Regions from separate parts of the Homo sapiens genome. Here region 2 is linked to region 1. The links are contacts of gene promoters, found by promoter capture Hi-C in blood cells and fetal thymus (Javierre and others, 2016). All regions are on one chromosome and are shown on one strand. The core of a region is centred on a gene start or on the middle of the fragment in contact, and the rest is flanking DNA. Distances in the headings are between cores, read along the strand shown. Region 1 holds the start of TMTC2 (transmembrane O-mannosyltransferase targeting cadherins 2). Region 2 overlaps TMTC2 (transmembrane O-mannosyltransferase targeting cadherins 2).

Region 1 (3,535 bases), core at 662-3,161:
CTGTGGACTCAAGTAGTAAAGATGTGATAGGATGTGTTTTGGAGGTAACTGTCCAGGTTTTTGTTAACAAGTAAAATGAAACGAGGAAGCTAGAAAGCATAGTAATAATGATATACTAGCTAATACTTCTGTAGCACTTTCCTGGTCCCTTTTAGATATTTTACATAGGTTAACTACTTTAATACTCATAATAACAGTACTCATAAGATAAGTACTATTATTATCACTGTTTCATAGATTAGAAAACAGAGTCACAAAGAGGTTGAACGACTGGCCAAAGATCGCCCAAATAGTAATAGCAGAGTATGCACTCAAACTTAAACATCTGATCCCACAGTATGTGTTCTTCCTTCAGTGTTCTAGGACACCATATACATATTTTATATATACTATATATATCTCAGCATGTAAGTGCATTGGAGAGACACAGAGCATCAGGATGGACTAACTGATATGATTTTCAAAATTTTCAAGTGAGCAAAGGTTATGGAGGAAAAGGGTAAAAGATCAGTCCCTACCTGTAAAGACATAATTCCTTTTATTTTTGTTTACATATATTTGTCCAGGGCACAAAAAATGTGCTACTGTGGATGGCATAACAGGTATAATATTAATAAATATTCATCATTTTATCTGTGTGTATCCAATACAGATTTCTCAGATTTCCTTGTGAAATCAGGGAAATATGTAGCTTTGTTCTACAGAAGCCCAGACCACGGTATTTTCTTTCCAGGCCACTGCTAGACACCCAGGGGGCTCAATTTCTTGCCACAGTTTCGGAGAGCTTGCTGGTTAGGTGCTGCTCTTGGTTGGAACCAGTCGGCCCGCATGCAAAACAGACCTGTCTTCCACACCTTGTGGTTACTATGCAGCAGGGGGCGCTGCAGTAGTGTACATCGCGGTGCACCGGAGCTACTCTCCTGGCCAGAAAGCCAACAAGCCGGGAGGAGGCGTGTCAGGCAGCCCTGGGTCCTCTTTGGTCTTGCAACTTTAGTACCCAGAGCTTGTTCTACACAGACCATTCTACACCATATTTCACCATGTTGGATGCTTTCCATCCAGTCCTGCCTCCGAGCGGAAAGGAAAGGGCATTAGCTTACTGCCTTACTAGGTTTAAGTATAATGCTGTACCGGCTTGCACTAGAGGTTTCTCTCCTGTGTTCTCAGGGTCAACCCGACAGTCCCTCTGAAACCACGAAGGGGTCCCCGGGCAGTTGCTGCGGGGTGTGTGTGTGTCTTTCTTTCCCTTTTTGGGGTCCTTTCTTTTTAACCTTACTGAAGGAGGAAACGTTTCTCTCCCTACACGTCTTTCCACTGACATTGTGGCCAACCGTAGGCTAAGAGCTGAAATCTCTCCTTCCTAAGTTGCCTCCAAGCTCTCCAATACTACCTCCTCCCCCCCATTTAGTCTCACACACAGTGTGCGTGAGAGATCGCCAGTGAGTTTGTGACAACCGAAGCTGCAGCAGTCGCCAAACCTGTTCTTCCTCTCCCGGTCTCAGAAGTCTCTCCAGCTGACCGGACTTACGCCTGGCAGCTCTTGGCACACACAGCGCTGTGGCTGAGATTCAGCCGTGCCAGGCGCTGCCAGGCAGCAGCGGGGCGACCGACCACCTCCTCCTCGACCTCCTTTCTCCCAGCTTCCCCTCCCAGGGTGCACTGTATCTACTCCTTTGGGCTGTCTTCCAGCCGTCGCCCTTGGGTCCCGGGGGCTTTCCAGAGTGAAATCGAAGGTGAAAGAAACAAGAGGACGGGAGGCTGGTAGGAGGAGCCTCCAGGCCGGGGAGGGTGGGAGGAGCCTCCAGCCCGAGGGGCAGGGTAGGAGGAGCCTTCCGGGAGGATCTGGGTGGAGAAAGGGGCTGGGCCAAGCCGGGATGGAGGGTTGGTCACGCAGGCGCGGGGGGCCGCGTCGAGAACCCCACGCGGGAGCTTCTGGAGTCTCCAGCCACCGCTTCTCACTTCACTGGAGAAGGGAGCTGGGGCTGGGGCTGGGGCTGGGGCTGGGAGGGAGCTAATAAACATTGAATGTGCAGCAGCTGCCTTGGCGGCCGGAGTCCGCCCGAGCGACACCGGAGCAGTGCGCCCGGGAGGCGGCGAGGGGAGGCGGTTCGCCTTGTCCCTCCCACCCGCGCCTCTTTCTCTCTCTTCCTCCAGCTGGTCCCAGAGCCCGGCTTGGTCCGGTCCCTCTGCCCCCATCCCGCACCCTTCCACCTCCTCCGAGTCCCACTCCTCACCTAGGACGCCCCAAACTGCCATGGGTTAGGGTGGGGATCGCGACCCGCGCGAAAGACCAGCCCTGCGCTTCCGCCGGGGGACGCGGAGCCCAAACGCCGCTCACCGCTTGCGGGCGCCGGGCATGGGGAGTGTGGTGTGAGCCCGCACCCGGGGAGGACGCAGGAGCTGCGGAGACGGGCGCGAGGAGGAGGAGAGGAGTCGTGGATTGGAAGGACCCGAGGGAGGGAGGGTGGGGAAGCGAGGGAAAAGTGAAGCTGGGAGGAGAAGGCGGCGGAAGGTGGAGATTGATGCTTCTGTTTTTTGTTGCCGCTGCTGCCCTCGCGCTGGGAGCCGAGCCGGAGGGAAGGCGGTGGAGAGATGATTGCAGAGTTGGTGAGCAGCGCTCTGGGGCTCGCCTTGTATCTCAACACCCTGAGTGCGGATTTCTGCTATGATGACAGGTAAGGGGCCGAGAGGAGGGGGCGACGGGCTGCAGGGGGCACACTCCGCAGTGGCTCTGAAGCTTCCCTCTTTAAGGCTCAAAGTGCGTCTTGGAGGAACTGGTTCAGCACCTGATGGTTTAGGCGACACGTAAACATTAACACCTAAATCAAACACCGGGGACGTGAGGCGCGCTGGGCGGGCCGAGGGAGTTTCCGCTCCTAGTTTGCAGCAGGTTCTCTCCCTTGCTTCTCGGCTGTTGGCAGACGCTTGAGTTTCTTAGCGGAAATCCCGGCAATTTGGGAAACTGTTTAATGAACGTATTAAATTAAAGTCTTAGGTATTCCTTGATGCAACAAAGCACATTAAGTGATTTTACGTCTGGTTGGGAGGAAGCCTCTCCTCGATCCCTGATAGATCCTCCCTGTCCCGTTTCCTTTTATTGATGGGACACTTTTATTTCCCGAAGTTAAAACACACGTTTGATAGTTGCCAAAATTGTGAAAAGGGAGATCGTTCTCTGCTTTAACTTTCCCTTTTAACGTGTATAGACTTTTACTTTGAGCCAAAATAATGCTGCTGATGGTCTCTCCCGCCGCCCTAGCCTCCTTCACCAATCCATTGGGCAGCACTTTATAAAAGCCTCGGCTTTCTCATTTCTGTTTGGGAGTTGTACATTAGATGTTAGTGGTTCTTTTGTACTAATTGGAGAAGAAGACGCCCCTAGAGACTGAAGTTGTCTTCTGCACTTAGGTTAGTTTGGGTGGCTAATGAGACCTGAACTGTGTTGTCAAAGAAACTGCATCGATTTCTGGAAAATGTCACCGTTGTGTTGGTGTCTCTTCCTATCTTTTAAACGTTATTAGTGTTCAGAAAGTGA
Region 2 (3,535 bases), core at 497-2,996, 290 kb after region 1:
CATGTCTTTCCTGTGTTTGCTTCAAAACTACACTTTCAGACTTCAAGAGTTTCCCCTTAAGTTTAATGCTATAGGACTTGAAGAGTTGTATATTGAATCTTTTCCTAACTTTTCTCAAATTAAGACTTGGATAATATTACATTTTACTTTCAATACTACTGTACTGTAGCCGCTAAAGGATTTCCAATCAGAAGCAATATATCTGGGGCAACTAGAGGGTGTTATTTTTATAAGAATAAGATGACAAAAATATTGGGATGGAGATACAAAAGATTCACAAAATTTGACTGCTAAAAGTTACACCAGGTTTGTAGCATAAATGTATTTTTAAAAGGGAGACTCGCTAATGTTTCTAGTAGTGTTTCTAATGCTTCTCAACACTGTGAAGTAAAAAATGATCATCGGACTGCAGGTTCTAGAAAAAAAGAATTATCTGGAAATTTCTCTTCAAGGGCATACTTCGTAAAAAAATGTAACATCTAAATTCAAGTAGATACATAATGTGATCAGGTATTTGTCAGCTATTTATCGAGTACTCTCTGGAGCCAAAGCTTTCTGGACTTAGGTTGAAGACAGAAAAATATATAAAAGATTGTGTGTCTGCTTCCATGCATCTCATAGTCTGGTTTTGTAGCAGAAAGATTATAATTGCTTACCTAGCTAGGTTCCGTAAGTACATAAAAAGTGGGAGAGGGAGTTTGAATAAATCAAGAATTGAATACTATTCTCGAATGGGGAAACTCAATTTTGTAAAAATTCTCTTTTTCTCAAATTTATTTATAGATTTTAATTTAATAGCAATAAACATTCTGAAAAGAATTTTATCAAAAACTTGACAAAATGATTCTAAAACAGTGAAATATAGCCAAGAAAGTCTTAATGAATAATAAAGTTTAAGACTTGTTTGTTCTACTAGATACTCAAATATTAGATGAAGTGATTAGAGTGATATTGTACCCATGAGAAAAGAAAACCAGACCAATAGGACAAAGTGGAGACCCTGGAAATAATAACAAATTATTTAAGGTTGTTGTAGATAATAAATGTAAAATTAAATATTGGTCAGGGAAGGAAATTTGTATAATAGTTGATCTAGACAATTGAGTAAATCTTTGGGAAAGAATAACATCAGATACTTGTCTCATACCACATAGCAAAGTATATTTCATGTGGAATACATAGTTCATTTTAATAATGAAACTATATAATTAGAAAATGATACATATCTCCATGATATAGAAAATGTTTTGTGTATAAAAGATACTTTAATAATATTTTGTATAAAAGATAGTCCAAGAATTCTCCTTCTATACATTTATTTTGAGGTTATAATAAGAGTTGTGTTTTAAAAAGATAATTAAAAAATACAATGATAATTGCAGAAGTGCAGTACTTACATAAAATGTTGGGAGGGGAATTTGAATAGACAACAAACTGAATACTGATTTCGAATGAGAAAACTGAATTTTGGGAAAATTGGCATAGTTTTATTTAAAATAACAAAACACTGGAAGGAACCTAGATGCTTAAAACTAGCAAAATATTTTACTATATAATTGATTTTTTTCAATATGTAATTCAAATTCTTGGAGAAAACATAAAAATTTGCCAGTGGCTATCTATGGGTGATATAATTCTTTCAGTCTTATAAAATTATGATCTTTCAGACTTTCTTCAATGAACAGGTATAATGTTTATAATTAGAAAACAGAGTTATAACTATTAAATGGAATAACCAAGACTTGATCTAGATGCAGCCAATCTTGAATAGATCAACTAAAAATTAAGAATGAGGCAGGATATTTTAAACTAGGATATTTTTACCTCTTTATGAAATGAATGTATATAAATATCTGAGCACTGGTGAACCTACAAATGATTATCCATTTTGGAGATTATGGAGTTATTTATTCTTAGCCCTTCATGTTGTAAATGATAAAACTGAGGACCTTTAAAATCACTCATTTTTCTAAAACATACAGCTATTAATGGCAAAATAAGAATTCAAAACCAATCCATCTAAAATACTATTTTGGTATATATGTTTAATTTCCGTGTGTGTGTGTGTAGTTTTCAAAATTTCTCTCGTTATTGATTTCTAGTTTTATTCCATTGTGATCAGAGAATATACTTGATATAATTTAAGGTTTTTTTAGTTTTTCTAAGACTGCTTTGTGGCATAATATGTGGTCTATTCTTGAAAATGATCCATGTGCTGCGGTGAAAAATGTGTATTCTGCAGCCATTGCAAGAAATGTTCTGTAAATATCTATTAGATCCATTTGCTCTATAGTGCCAATTAAGTCGTCTTTCTTTGTTGACTTTCTATTTGGATGATCTGCCCGATGCAGAAAATTAGGTTTGAAGCCTTCAGCTATTATTGTATTGGGGTCTATCTCTCTAGCCCTAATAATACTTGGTTTATATATCTGGGTTCTCCAGAGTTGGGTGCGTATATATTTACAATTGTTATATCCTCTTGCTGAATTGACACATGTGTGGTTATATAATGACCCTCCTTGTCTCTTTTTATAGTTTCTGTCTTGAAATCTGTTTTGTCTGGTGTAAGTATAGCTACTTCTGCTTTTTTTTGCTTTCCATTTGTGTGGAATATCTTTTTCCATCCCTTTATTTTCAGTCTATGTGTGTCTTTATAGGTAAAGTGTGTTTCTTGTATGCAACAGATTGTTAGGTCTTTTTTTTCTTTTTATTTAGCCACTCAATGTTTTTATTGGAGAATTTAGTCCATTTATATTCAATATTATAATTTATAAATAATGACTTACTCTTGACATTTTGTTGTTTGCTGGTCATTTTGTGGTCTTCTTTCTTTACTTCCTTCCTGTCTTTTAGTGAAGGTGATTTTCTCTGGTTGTATGTTTTAATTTCTTGCTTTTTATTTTTTGTACATCTTTTATATGATTTTAGTTTAAGGTTATAATGAAGCTTGCAAATAATATTTCATAACCCATTATTTTAAACTGATGACAACTTATCACTGAGAGAAAAAGATTAATAAACAAGAAAATAGAAAATGAATAACTCTACACTTTAAATTTCACCCTCCTGCTTTTTAACTTTTAATTCTTTCTGTTTATTTCTTATACTGTGCATGTCTCGAATAGTTGTTGTAGTTATTTGTTTTGATTGGTTCATTTTTCAATCTTTCAACTCAAGATATGAGTAATTATGTACCACCTAATTATGTACCACAATTGCAATTTTATAATATTCTGTGTTTTTCTCCATACTTACTACTACCAGTGAGTTTTGTACTTTCAAATGATTTCTTATTGCTTATAAAGGTCATTTTCTTTCAGATTGAAGGACTCCCTTTAGCATTTCTTGTAGGACAAGTCTGGTATTGATTAAATCTCTCAGCTTTTGTCTGGGACAGTCTATTTCTCCTTCATGTTTGAAGGATATTTTCACTGGATCCACTATTCTAGGATACAAATTTGTTTGTTTGTTTTCCTTCAGCACTTTGAATATGTCATGCCCTCCCTGCCTCCACTGAAAAGTCTGCTGCCTCACA

What was found. Contacts are between HindIII fragments. The CHiCAGO score rates a contact against its expected background, and 5 or more counts as called.
Region 2: a contact is called between a fragment that was not itself captured here and the fragment with the promoter of TMTC2 in region 1, in 1 of 17 cell types (monocytes). The highest score is 6.8, in monocytes.

Annotation. Positions count from the first base shown.
Region 1 is chr12:82,684,995-82,688,529 of GRCh38, forward strand. TMTC2 (transmembrane O-mannosyltransferase targeting cadherins 2) reads left to right here and starts at 1,912. Exons shown (of 12, transcript NM_152588.3): 1 at 1,912-2,675. The coding sequence starts at 2,593. RefSeq lists silencers at 863-942, 1,793-1,892, 2,463-2,512, 2,873-2,932 and enhancers at 1,373-1,522, 1,543-1,752. The HindIII fragment of the contact is 3,615 bases long and covers 1-2,735 here.
Region 2 is chr12:82,976,424-82,979,958 of GRCh38, forward strand. All of the region lies in intron 7 of TMTC2 (transmembrane O-mannosyltransferase targeting cadherins 2), which reads left to right. Among named protein-coding and RNA genes, the nearest start is that of TMTC2, 290 kb to the left of the region's middle. The HindIII fragment of the contact is 2,395 bases long and covers 550-2,944 here.